Linked DNA regions of Homo sapiens: region 2 is linked to region 1. The links are contacts of gene promoters, found by promoter capture Hi-C in human tissues and cell types (Jung and others, 2019). All regions are on one chromosome and are shown on one strand. Each heading gives the region's core, a stretch centred on a gene start or on the middle of the fragment in contact. The rest is flanking DNA. Distances are from core to core; before and after follow the strand shown.

What was found. The method cuts DNA at HindIII sites, captures the fragments that hold promoters and counts their contacts. A contact is called where the count stands out against the background at its distance.
Region 2: a fragment that was not itself captured here is called in contact with the fragment with the promoter of GHR in region 1 in 1 of the 25 tissues and cell types used here (aorta).

Annotation. Positions count from the first base shown.
Region 1 is chr5:42,419,307-42,424,688 of GRCh38, forward strand. GHR (growth hormone receptor) reads left to right here and starts at 4,133. Exons shown (of 10, transcript NM_000163.5): 1 at 4,133-4,649. RefSeq lists promoters at 3,416-4,501, 3,925-4,497, 4,107-4,207, 4,405-5,173, 4,826-5,173 and 1 more, cis regulatory regions at 3,416-3,924, 4,262-4,302 and an enhancer at 4,129-4,278. The HindIII fragment of the contact is 10,174 bases long and covers 2,065-5,382 here.
Region 2 is chr5:42,463,441-42,468,475 of GRCh38, forward strand. The region is part of intron 1 of GHR (growth hormone receptor); the gene reads left to right. It also overlaps the pseudogene SERBP1P6 and the pseudogene LOC100419545. Among named protein-coding and RNA genes, the nearest start is that of GHR, 43 kb to the left of the region's middle. The HindIII fragment of the contact is 3,667 bases long and covers 1,043-4,709 here.

The DNA.
Region 1 (5,382 bases), core at 2,883-5,382:
GAGACTTATTTTGAGAAATTTGCTCACATAATTGTGAAAACTGAAAAGTCAAAAATCTACAGGGTAAATTGGTTACAGATTTAGGGAATAGTTGATATGCAGTTTGAATCCAAAGGCTGCCTGCTGACAGAATTTTCTCTTCTTTGGGATAGGTCAGTTTTTTTCTCTTAATGCCTTCAACTGATCGATTGAGGCCCACCTACATTATGTAGAGCAATATGATTTACTCAAAGTCTATTGATTTAAATGTTAATCTTACCATAAAAATGCCTTTGCCAAAAAAATCTAAAATAATATTTGACCAAATATCTGGGTACCATGGTCTAGCAAAATTGACACATAAAATTAACCATCTCAATGTGTCAACTTTGCTAGGGCATGGTACCCGGACATTTGGTCAAATATTATTCAAATAAATTTAGAATTTATCACAAATGTTTGATATCATAATTTGATTTACAAATATCAATCTAATACTTTATTTTACAGCTGAATGATCTCAGAGAGCAACCCCTTCCTTCTATAGGCCAAGAAATGGAGTCATTGTGAGATTAGTAACTAATTTACCCAAAATCACAGAGGACCCACACAGGATCCCAAGGCTCCTGACTAACAATCCTATGTTCTTCAACTACAAATGCTATAAAACAAAACAGCTATAAAATGCTACTTTAAGTGTTTTGGCCTCTTTTGTTTTGTTTTGAGAAGAAGCTTTGGCATTTTATAGTACAACAGAGTGACTAAAGCCATGCTCTAACCTCAGATAACTGTAGATTTAGGAAGTTTATACTGTGGTGTTTTATGGTTTGGGGAGATGGCGATCTGACCTAGATATCTGCACTTGAATATATATAATCAGAATTATTTTCTAATTGTTTCTATTGTCTTCAAGGCAGTTTATATTTTTTGCTAAGCCCTACTGGGGATGTATAAAAGACTGGGGAAGGGTGGGCCATAATAAGGTAAGGCCATAATAAGGTAAAATAGGTTGGACAAGATAAGTTAGCCAATATCTGAGTAAAGACTTCAAGGAACTGTAGGAGGAAGCAAATGAATATTTGTGGAAGTGTGTTTAAATCAGAGAGAAAAGCCAGCAAAAAGCCTTCAAGTTAGGAGTCTGCCTGGCCTGCTTAAGAAACAGCAGGGAGGCCGGTGTGCTGGGAGCAGAATGGATGACCCAGTGATGGGGAAATTCATGGGAGATGAGGTGTGGGGCAAAGGTACATAGCTCACGTAGGGTCTCATGGGCCATTTTGAATTTTATTCTGATTTGAATGGGGAACCATTGGAGGGTTTTGAGCTGAGGAATGACATGATATTAATTTTAAAAGGAATGACTATGGCAACTGAATTTATACTTTGGGTTGTTGTTGGTGTTGGTTGGGGATTAGGGGTGGGGTTTGTCAAAGCAAGCAGACCAGTTGAGTTGAGAGACTACTGCAGTAATCTGAGAAATTCTGGTGGTTCAGACCAGGTGTCTCTGGACCTCTCCAAGAAAATAGACAGAGTTTTGAATGTGGAATGTGATTGGCAGAGAAGAAGTAAGGATGATTTCAAAGGTTTGTGGCCTGGGTAACTGGCAGGAAGTAGTTGCCATCTACTGAGATGGAAATGTCACCCACTGTGATTGGAGTATGTTTAAGGAGAAAGAACCAGAGTTCAGATGTGGACATGTCAAGTTTCAGAGGTCTGTTAGACATCCAAATGGAGATACCCAGTTGTTAGCCTGGAGCTCTGTGGAGAGATCTGGGTTAGAGATATAAATCCAAGAGATACAACTTTTCATTCAATTTGATTATTTATTGGACGCTTTATAAACTCTGTAAATACTGGGCACTAACCTAGACATTGCAGGTACAGATATTAAGAATATATAGTTTCTCCCTCAGAAATCTCTTAATTAATGAGAAAAGCAGACATGTCAACAAAACTGCAATATTTAATAAAAGAAGATATAAAGGCCTATAAAGGTGCTGATACAGGGAGAATTAATTAATTCCACCCTGGGGAATAGTCAGGAAGACCTTCAGAGAGAAAGTAAACAATTGATTGGAACTTTAAGATTAAGAAGGATTTCTCTGGGTGGACAAAGTAGGATCTTCCAAGCAGAGTGGAAACCATGAGCAAATGCAGTTTCATTCTTCAGAAGGTAAATGTGCTCTGGCATGCCTTAACTTATAACAAATTAATCAACTCAATACCTGCTACATTTTCCCTCACAATTTGGAATATATAAAGAGGCACATACTACTATGGACCAATACCTGGTCATATATGAGATTGAAGGACCTTTACTTACGAGGCTTAAAAATAAAGACTGCCCTTCATGTCAGTTGCAGGTTTATATCTAGTTCTATAGTATTAACTGAGGTGTCTTTTCCTATGTTTTCTGTGCATGATGACTTTTTAAAAATCAAAGACAGAGCAGCAGCCAGAGTAGTCTAGTTTCATGGCACACAGAATGGAGGATATTGCTGAACCCAGATTTAAAAAAAAAAAGAAGTCAATTCTTATTTTTTTAAGTATGGCCCTGAGCTCATCTCAGAGCATAAACAATAGAATTTAGAATATCTTTTATGACTCCGTCTGGCACCTCCTAAACTAGATCAAGATTCTCTAGCTCAGGGAAGAAGGGCAAAGGATGAGAAGGCACAGAGAGGATATAAACAGAGAGGTTGGTAGTGCCAGGCTCTGAAGAAGGTCCAACTTGGAAGGTCATTTCAGACAGGCGTGGAGTCAGCATTTGAGGCCTGTCTGGTCTCTACTCCTGCCAGGACTACCCTGTCAGCCAGCTTGGCAGGTATGGACCACCCAGCAGGAGTTTTTCTTGACTGTGCCCTAATCTTTTACTTTCCCAAGTTTCTCTATATGGGTACCTCCCCTTTTAAAAGCTCCAGACACAGCCAAGCACCACTATTGCTCCAGCAAAGTATGAAGCCCCAGAAATCAATGGTTTGGGGAAGAGTCTTAGGGGAACTAAATGCCTCCTTATTTTTAGATGCCATAGAACAAGAGCAGTTCAGGATCAATAACCATCCCACCCCATGATAAAACACGCCCCTTCCAGAATCTTTCCTTTTTCGTTCATTCTAGGTGTCTGTCTGGAACAGCTGGGGTATTTGAGCCACAGCTGAGCTTCTGAAAGCATTCTAAGGAACAGTTTTTCACTTATCTGATTCCTTTGAAAATAGGGGTATCTTATGTGATATCTGCTATCCCAGAGTCTTTGGTCCTCTGTTCCTTCTCAAGTCTTGGCTCCCGTGTACTACTTCAAAGCCCTATAGATATTTTATTCTAAAGAAAAGAAACTTGGTTCCTTTAAGTTGTTTAAACATTTCTTTCTGGGTATAAACTTGGGTTTGTGTCTGGGAGCTCTGTTAAAAAAAAAAAGTCTTTAGTAAGCCAAAGCTGTTAGAAGCTTATAAGTAAGTGACATTACAATTGACCGTCAGTAAATAGTGGAAAGATTGCATGACTAGCTACTCCTTCAGATCTGAGACAACCTGGAGCTAGATTTTTGTACTCTCTACTCAGAAAAGCATATAGTGACTTGGGGTTTGATGCTGTACAAAAATGACATGCTTATGCACAACTTTAACTTTCTGCAACACTTTTACAACTTCTTGTGAATGAAGTAGGCAGGGCTCGCATTTGACAGATGAGCTATGTCCAGCGTGAGGCAGAGTTAAAACCCTTTTCCTGGCTCAGGAACTTCAGGCTGGGGCCTGTGTCTGCTCTCCCTGCATCCCTGTCCTCTAGCAGATACCTCTCTGCTAACATGCTGAGTGTCCTTGGTAAATTACTCATTCTCTCTGTCTCCGTCTTCTAACCTCCACAATAAAGTCCTTCGTAGTTTTAACTATCTTTTCACTGTGCCCCAGTGAGCAGGAGTTTGGAACTTGATTGTTGATGGAAAGGCAATATTTGGATGGCTAAACACGCTTTCCAAGGTATCTCGCTGATCTTCCTCTCATTCCTGGAGATAGCTAACCTTTTTGTAAGTGTTTCTTTGAGTCTGTGGACTGCACTTAACGCTCTTGTAGGTCCTGCTTTCATTTGGAACGGGCAGGCGGAGAGGAAGGAAGTGTATTGCAACTACCAATATTTTCCTCTAGGAGGAGCCGCGCAGCTCAGTTGAGAGTGACACGCACCAACTCCAGCTCCTCGCCGGGAAGACTTCATCCCAGCAACTCGGAATGCTTGGCCCGGGCGGCACTCGGCCTCTCCGCAGCAGTTCTCGAACTGGCCTCCTTGAACGTCCGCTTCGCCTTCGCTTCTGCAACCTGGATCTGGGGGACTGCGGGCCAGGCGCGGCGTGACCCCTGGTGAACGGTGGCCGCCTTTTCCCACCCCTGCCCTCCCATCCTCCCTTCCCGTTTCACCCCGCCCCCTCTCTCCTCCCCAAGCCTGACAGCCCGCGAGCTGCCAAGCAGGGCGCAGCCATGGGAAGAGGAGGAGGGCTAGGGAGCGGCGGCGGCGGCGGCAGCGGCAGCAGCAGCTGCTACAGTGGCGGTGGCGGCGGCGGCTGCTGCTGAGCCCGGGCGGCGGCGGGGACCCCGGGCTGGGGCCACGCGGGCCGGAGGCCCCGGCACCATTGGCCCCAGCGCAGACGCGAACCCGCGCTCTCTGATCAGAGGCGAAGCTCGGAGGTACTGGAGTGGGGCTCCGGGAGTCTGGCTTTATTTTCCTCCTGTTGTGCCAGGGGGCCTGAGGGTGAACCCTGGGACTCTAGTTGTTTATGAAAACGGGAGGATCTGTCTTATATATTTACACGGATAATTTTTTATTCCGGATGACTTGGCTGTGCTCCCCTCCTCCTTGCGAAGAAGTTGTTTTCTGCTGGTGGGTTGTTGTAACCCAATCTAGTGTGTGTGTGTGTGTGTGTGTGTGTGTGTGTGTGTGTGTGTGTGTGTCTGGAAGTTGGTGAGGGCGGCAGGGAGTTGCGGGCGACAGACGAACCATCACACTCTGGCGTCTGCTCTGGCCCGCGAGTAGTGTACGTGGAGGGGTTTACTCCGGAGACAGTTTTGTTAAAGTCATAAAAGTTTTGCTAGTGTGTTTCTGTTTGCCATCATCTGCCTGGCTGCGGCAGGAACTGCCGAGGCTGCTGCTGTTGCGCGGGGAAGAATCCCCGGCAGCGCGACTGGAGAGACTGGGGAGGTCGAGCTGTGCGCGTGGACACAGCGCGCAGAGCGCGCGGTCTTTTGCGCGTTTGTGCGGGCCGCAGCCGCACGTTGGCACCGATGGAACTGGGGTCAGTAGAGTGACAGCCACCAGTCCGCATGAACTGGGGTAAGTGGAAATTGTGGCGAGCCGACCTCCCCCAGCTTTTGACACACTAGTGGTTGTAAAATCAACCAGGCTTAAAGTTTTGACAGAACT
Region 2 (5,035 bases), core at 1,626-4,125, 43 kb after region 1:
GCAGTATAAACATAGACATGGATTTTGGGTTAAATCTGAGAACTATTTTTTTGTACTAAAATTTGCGTGCAGATGACAATGGGAAAATCAAATGTTTTCCTGGAAAATTTTCAAATGGGACAAATAGTCATCTTTCTGGAAATATGAAATAAAGGGAGTGGTAGTGGTTGGACTATAAACCTCTTTGAAGGCCTTTTAATCTTTAGCTGTAATTCATGTTTTATCACCATTGGATTTTCAAAACGGAAAATACCTTAGAAATAATTTAGTGGGCCGGGCGCGGTGGCTCACGCCTGTAATCCCAGCACTTTGGGAGGCCGAGGCGGGTGGATCACGAGGTCAGGAGATCGAGACCATCCCGGCTAAAACGGTGAAACCCCGTCTCTACTAAAAATACAAAAAATTAGCCGGGCGTAGTGGTGGGCGCCTGTAGTCCCAGCTACTTGGGAGGCTGAGGCAGGAGAATGGCGTGAACCCGAGAGGCGGAGCTTGCAGTGAGCCGAGATCCCGCCACTGCACTCCAGCCTGGGCGACAGAGCGAGACTCCGTCTCAAAAAAAAAAAAAAAAAAAAAAAAGAAAAAGAAATAATTTAGTGTTACCTTGTTGATATTACCAAAAAAAAAAAAAAAGTGCTCAGAGTCACATAACTTGATTCAGTCAGAGCTGGTACTAGATGCTCAGTCTTCTGACTTCTAATTTAGTTTGCTTTCATTATCTACTTACTACCTGCTGCTGACTCAGAGCTCCTCAGCTATCTGCAAGTGGATGTGTTTATTGAACATTTACGATGTACATGAACTGCTCTCAATGCGAAGCTCCCATGGTGAATGGGAGCTTACTTTCTGACTCAAAAATTAGTTTTCTCTCTTTGTGTTCTAAATGAAAGTGTCCTTTTGCTTTATCTGAAGCAGAAAGTTGTAAGTTTGTTTATTTTACTTTTGAAATTTTGGAGAATTGGCAGTGGGGTCATGCCATCAGAAACACATACATGCAATGCATGGATGCACGGTGTGAATGAGCTCTCTGGAAGATGGTAGATTATGGGAAAGAAGGAAGCTCAGAAAGAGAGTGGACCAAGTCAAGAGGAAAGAGAGAAGAAACAGGCAAGTGTGGAGCAGAGGAAAAGTAGGAGGGTCATGAATCCATTCTGCAGGTGTGTGCTGAGTGACTGGAAGAAGGAAAAGAACCAAGGAAGTCTCTGCCATGTTATCTTAGTTTTGTTAAGGGTATAAAGAGATTGAAGAGAGTTTAACTAGGCCATCTTTAACCCTAGGACATCCCTAGAGTCCCTGGCAGAACTAATAATCTAAATTATGAATGGCTGTGTGTGCACACACACAGGATGCACTTACTAATGTCTATCATTATGAGTATCTTCTGACTTCTCCACTACAAAGAAAGGAAGGGAATGTGACCCTCTTTCCAGGTTAGAAGTAACTAGGGCATAGTAACACAAATGGATGAATTAAACTGTTTAAATGGTGCACTGGAATATATTTATTTTGGGGCAAATCATGAAGAAATAAAAAAGGAAGAGATTCTCTTTTGAGAAAAAGTTTGTTTCCTATTGTCAATTGAGCAACTCTGTGAACATCTTAAAGATAAAGAATGATTATTCTGTAAAGTGCTGGGATTTCTGGTGCTGTGTGACAAAGTCCGGTTCCTTTTGTCTAAGTTAGTTATAATAATCTTTAATGAAAAGCAGAGGGGTCCCATGGTTTGGAACAAGTATCTGAGTCAAGAGTTGACAAGTAGAATAGCTGGGCGCAGAGGCTGCTGTCAAGTTGACAAAGCCAGAACAGTACATTTGGACAGAAAGAATTTGATTTTCTTATACTGAATGTGATGATCTTGAAGAACAGATTTTTTTTTTGCATGAAAATAAATCTTTATTTTCAGTTATTACCCACCAGTAAGAGAAAGTTAGGTTAAGGGTATAAAGGGATTGAAGAGGTTTCTACTTTTGCCCAGTCCTTATTTTGAATAGCCTTCCACTCATCCAAAGTCATCTCTTTTGGACCCTCCTCTTTTACCTCTTCAACTTCATTCTCCTTATTTTCAGTGTCTGCCACTGGATGATGTTCTTCACCTTCAGGTGTTTCCTCAGTCACATTTGATTGATCCAAGTCACTGCAATTATAAGATATTTGTTTCTGAATGTATTTGGGGGACTCTGTTAATTCATCTTTGACAATTCCCCAGTTGTGAGATCTGCTACCTCCACGTTACAGGTCCTCGTGCTTCAGGCCACTGTAATGTGAAAAAAAAGATCTATCACTTCCACTATACCTATCAAATTCACGTTTGCCACGAGAATCAAATCCATCTCCTTGGCCCATTTCACGTCCACTGCCCTCTCGACCTCTTCCAAGACCACCATGACCTTGAATAGGTCGGTCAATAATCAGTCTATCAACTGAAAATTCGCCTCCTTCACCCCTTTCATCAAGTGGCTTTTCAAGTCTTCGTTCACAAGGTGGTCTCCTTTCTGGTCTTCTATCAGTTATTTTCCCTTCACCGTGAAGTTGTTGAGCAGGTCTTCTTCCAACTTGTCTTATTCCTTCTTCTTTTTGTGTTTTTTATTTTTCCTCTAGGCAAGCTTTATTCTTTGATTCCTCTATCCAGGAAGGGGGCTGTTGGTTGCATCTTACCCAAATGGAATGCAATGGGAATTGGGAGCTTGAGTTGTGTGGAGGAGGAGTTGTCAATCTTAACAAATGACTATAGCTGGCGTGTGGTGTCCATCAATCCTTGAGGGCTTGGCCATGCACACTAGGGAATGGTCAGAACAGACTCAACAGAGGTCTCCAGAGCTTTACAATATCTACAATATCAAGGTTCAGGGGGTATAGACAGTAAGGAAAAAGGCCATTTCCTGTTTCTGTCCATTTTTGGTACAGTAGACAGTTAAGGTTTTTTCTTTTGACTAGCTTTTAAAAAATTACTTAGAAAATGGAAAGCTTATAAACATTCATAAGTGAATTGTTGAATTGCTACCCCAAGTGGTTTCCTTACCTAGTCACCACTTAACCAGAAATACTAGAATACACGGTTCAACCAGAATTCAACCAGGCAGATAACCTGCCTATTGCTCAAGCAATCATCAGAGTTTTTAAAAACAAAATTAAGCAAAAAAGACCTTTCCCCAAATACAATCATTACTTTGTATGACCCATTCCTAAGAAAGCTACATTCCATTTCAGAAAACATGACCACTTAAGGTACAGTTAAAACAAAGTCGTTGCCTTCAGGTGCTTACTTTCTGTTTTCTTTAAATTAACTGCTGAAATGTTTATCTTGTGTTTTGTGCTGCATTCCTGAAAACTGTAACTTTTAAGGACATAGGCCTCATCTTTATAAAGGAAGAAGAAAACAGCAAAGAGGTGTCTCATTTGGGAGGCAGAAGGTTATGACCAATGCTGGAAGTCTTCCTCTTCCTTACTTGTTGTTCAACAAGATGGGTTCTGTGGTGTCGCATGAGGTGTGAGTTGGAAATGAAAGCTGCACCACACTTCTTATATTCATAGGGCTTCTCCCCAGTGTGGGTTCTCTGGTGCACCGTGAGGCTCAACCTCTGTCTGAAGGCCTTCCCACACTCATTACACATGTAAGGTTTTTCTCCATTATGGATTCTCTGATGAATAAGTAGGTATGAGCTACATGTGAAGGCCTTCCCACATTCATTACACACAAAAGGAAGATCTCCACTGTGAATTCTCTGGTGGACAAAAAGGCAAGAGAGCTGACTGAAGGCTTGCCCACATTCACTGCAGTCATAAGGTTTCTCTGCAGTGTGAATTATCTGGTACATAATAAGGTGTGAAAAACAACTAAAGGTTTTCCCAAACTCACACTCATATGGCTTCTCACCAGTATGGCTTCGCTGATGTACAATAAGATTTGCAATCTGCGTAAAGGCTTTGCCAGAATCGTTACAGGCAGAGGGCTTCTCCCCAGTGTGGATCCTCTGGTGGACAATATGGTTTGAGCTCCCAGTAAATGTTTTCCGACACTCATTACATTTACAGCATTTTTCTGTAATGTGGAGTTTCTGGTGCCGAGCAAGTTGTGAGCTATAACTAAAGGCTTTCTCACATTTACTACGCCTAAAGGTTTTTTCTAAGGAGAGGTTTTTTTGATATACAGTCAGATTTGAACTCTGATTGAAGGCTTTCCCACATTTTGAGCAAACATAAGGTTTCTGTCCAGTGTGGATTCTCTGATGCACATCGAGCTTTGCACTCTGAATGAAGGCCTTCCCACACTCATGACATTCAAAAGGTTTCTCCCCGGTGTGGATTCTCTGATGCACAACGAGGTTTGCACTCTGACTAAATCCTTTCCCACACATGCTACAATGTAAAAGACTTTCGCCCAAGCTGGGTTTTCGGATTGTTAACAGTGTCAGAATTAAGGCTGTATTTTCCCACAGATTTCTTACATTTCTGGTCTTCCTCTTCTTTGAAGCTTTCAGGTAAGTGACAGTCATTCACTATGACTTATCTGAAATCTTTCCTTTCCCTCCTTATTCTCTGCCTCTTTAACATGTTTTCTTTTTCACAAGCCTCTCTTAACTCAGGTCCTTAAGGATCAGCTTTCTGGATTCTTCCTAATATGATGCGGGGGTTTTCAGCTTCCTCACGTATCTCAGTTTTTGGAACCAGTAACTGAAGGTTCTTGGTTTCAGCACCTTTTCTTCCTCTTCTGATCCATCAAGGCCTGTCTGACGAAACTCCCCTGGGGCCCAGACTTTGATGTTCTCAGAGTGCACTTGTTGGCTGGATGCCTGATCTGGGAAGTTTTCTTCTTCCTCCTCCTCCTTTTTCACCTTCACTGGGCGGCATGGGCCTAGGGCCATGGCTTCTCTCAATTCTGCAGTCATCTTCTCTGCTCAGCAGGGGAACGCCTATAGCTGGGAGCTGCCCAGCACAGGTCAAACCCCATCTAAGCTTTATGTTTCAAAAGCTTCTTCTTGAGTTTCCTCCCAGGGCCAAGATGAGTATTGCCTACGTGCGCAGCTGAGAGGCCCGACCA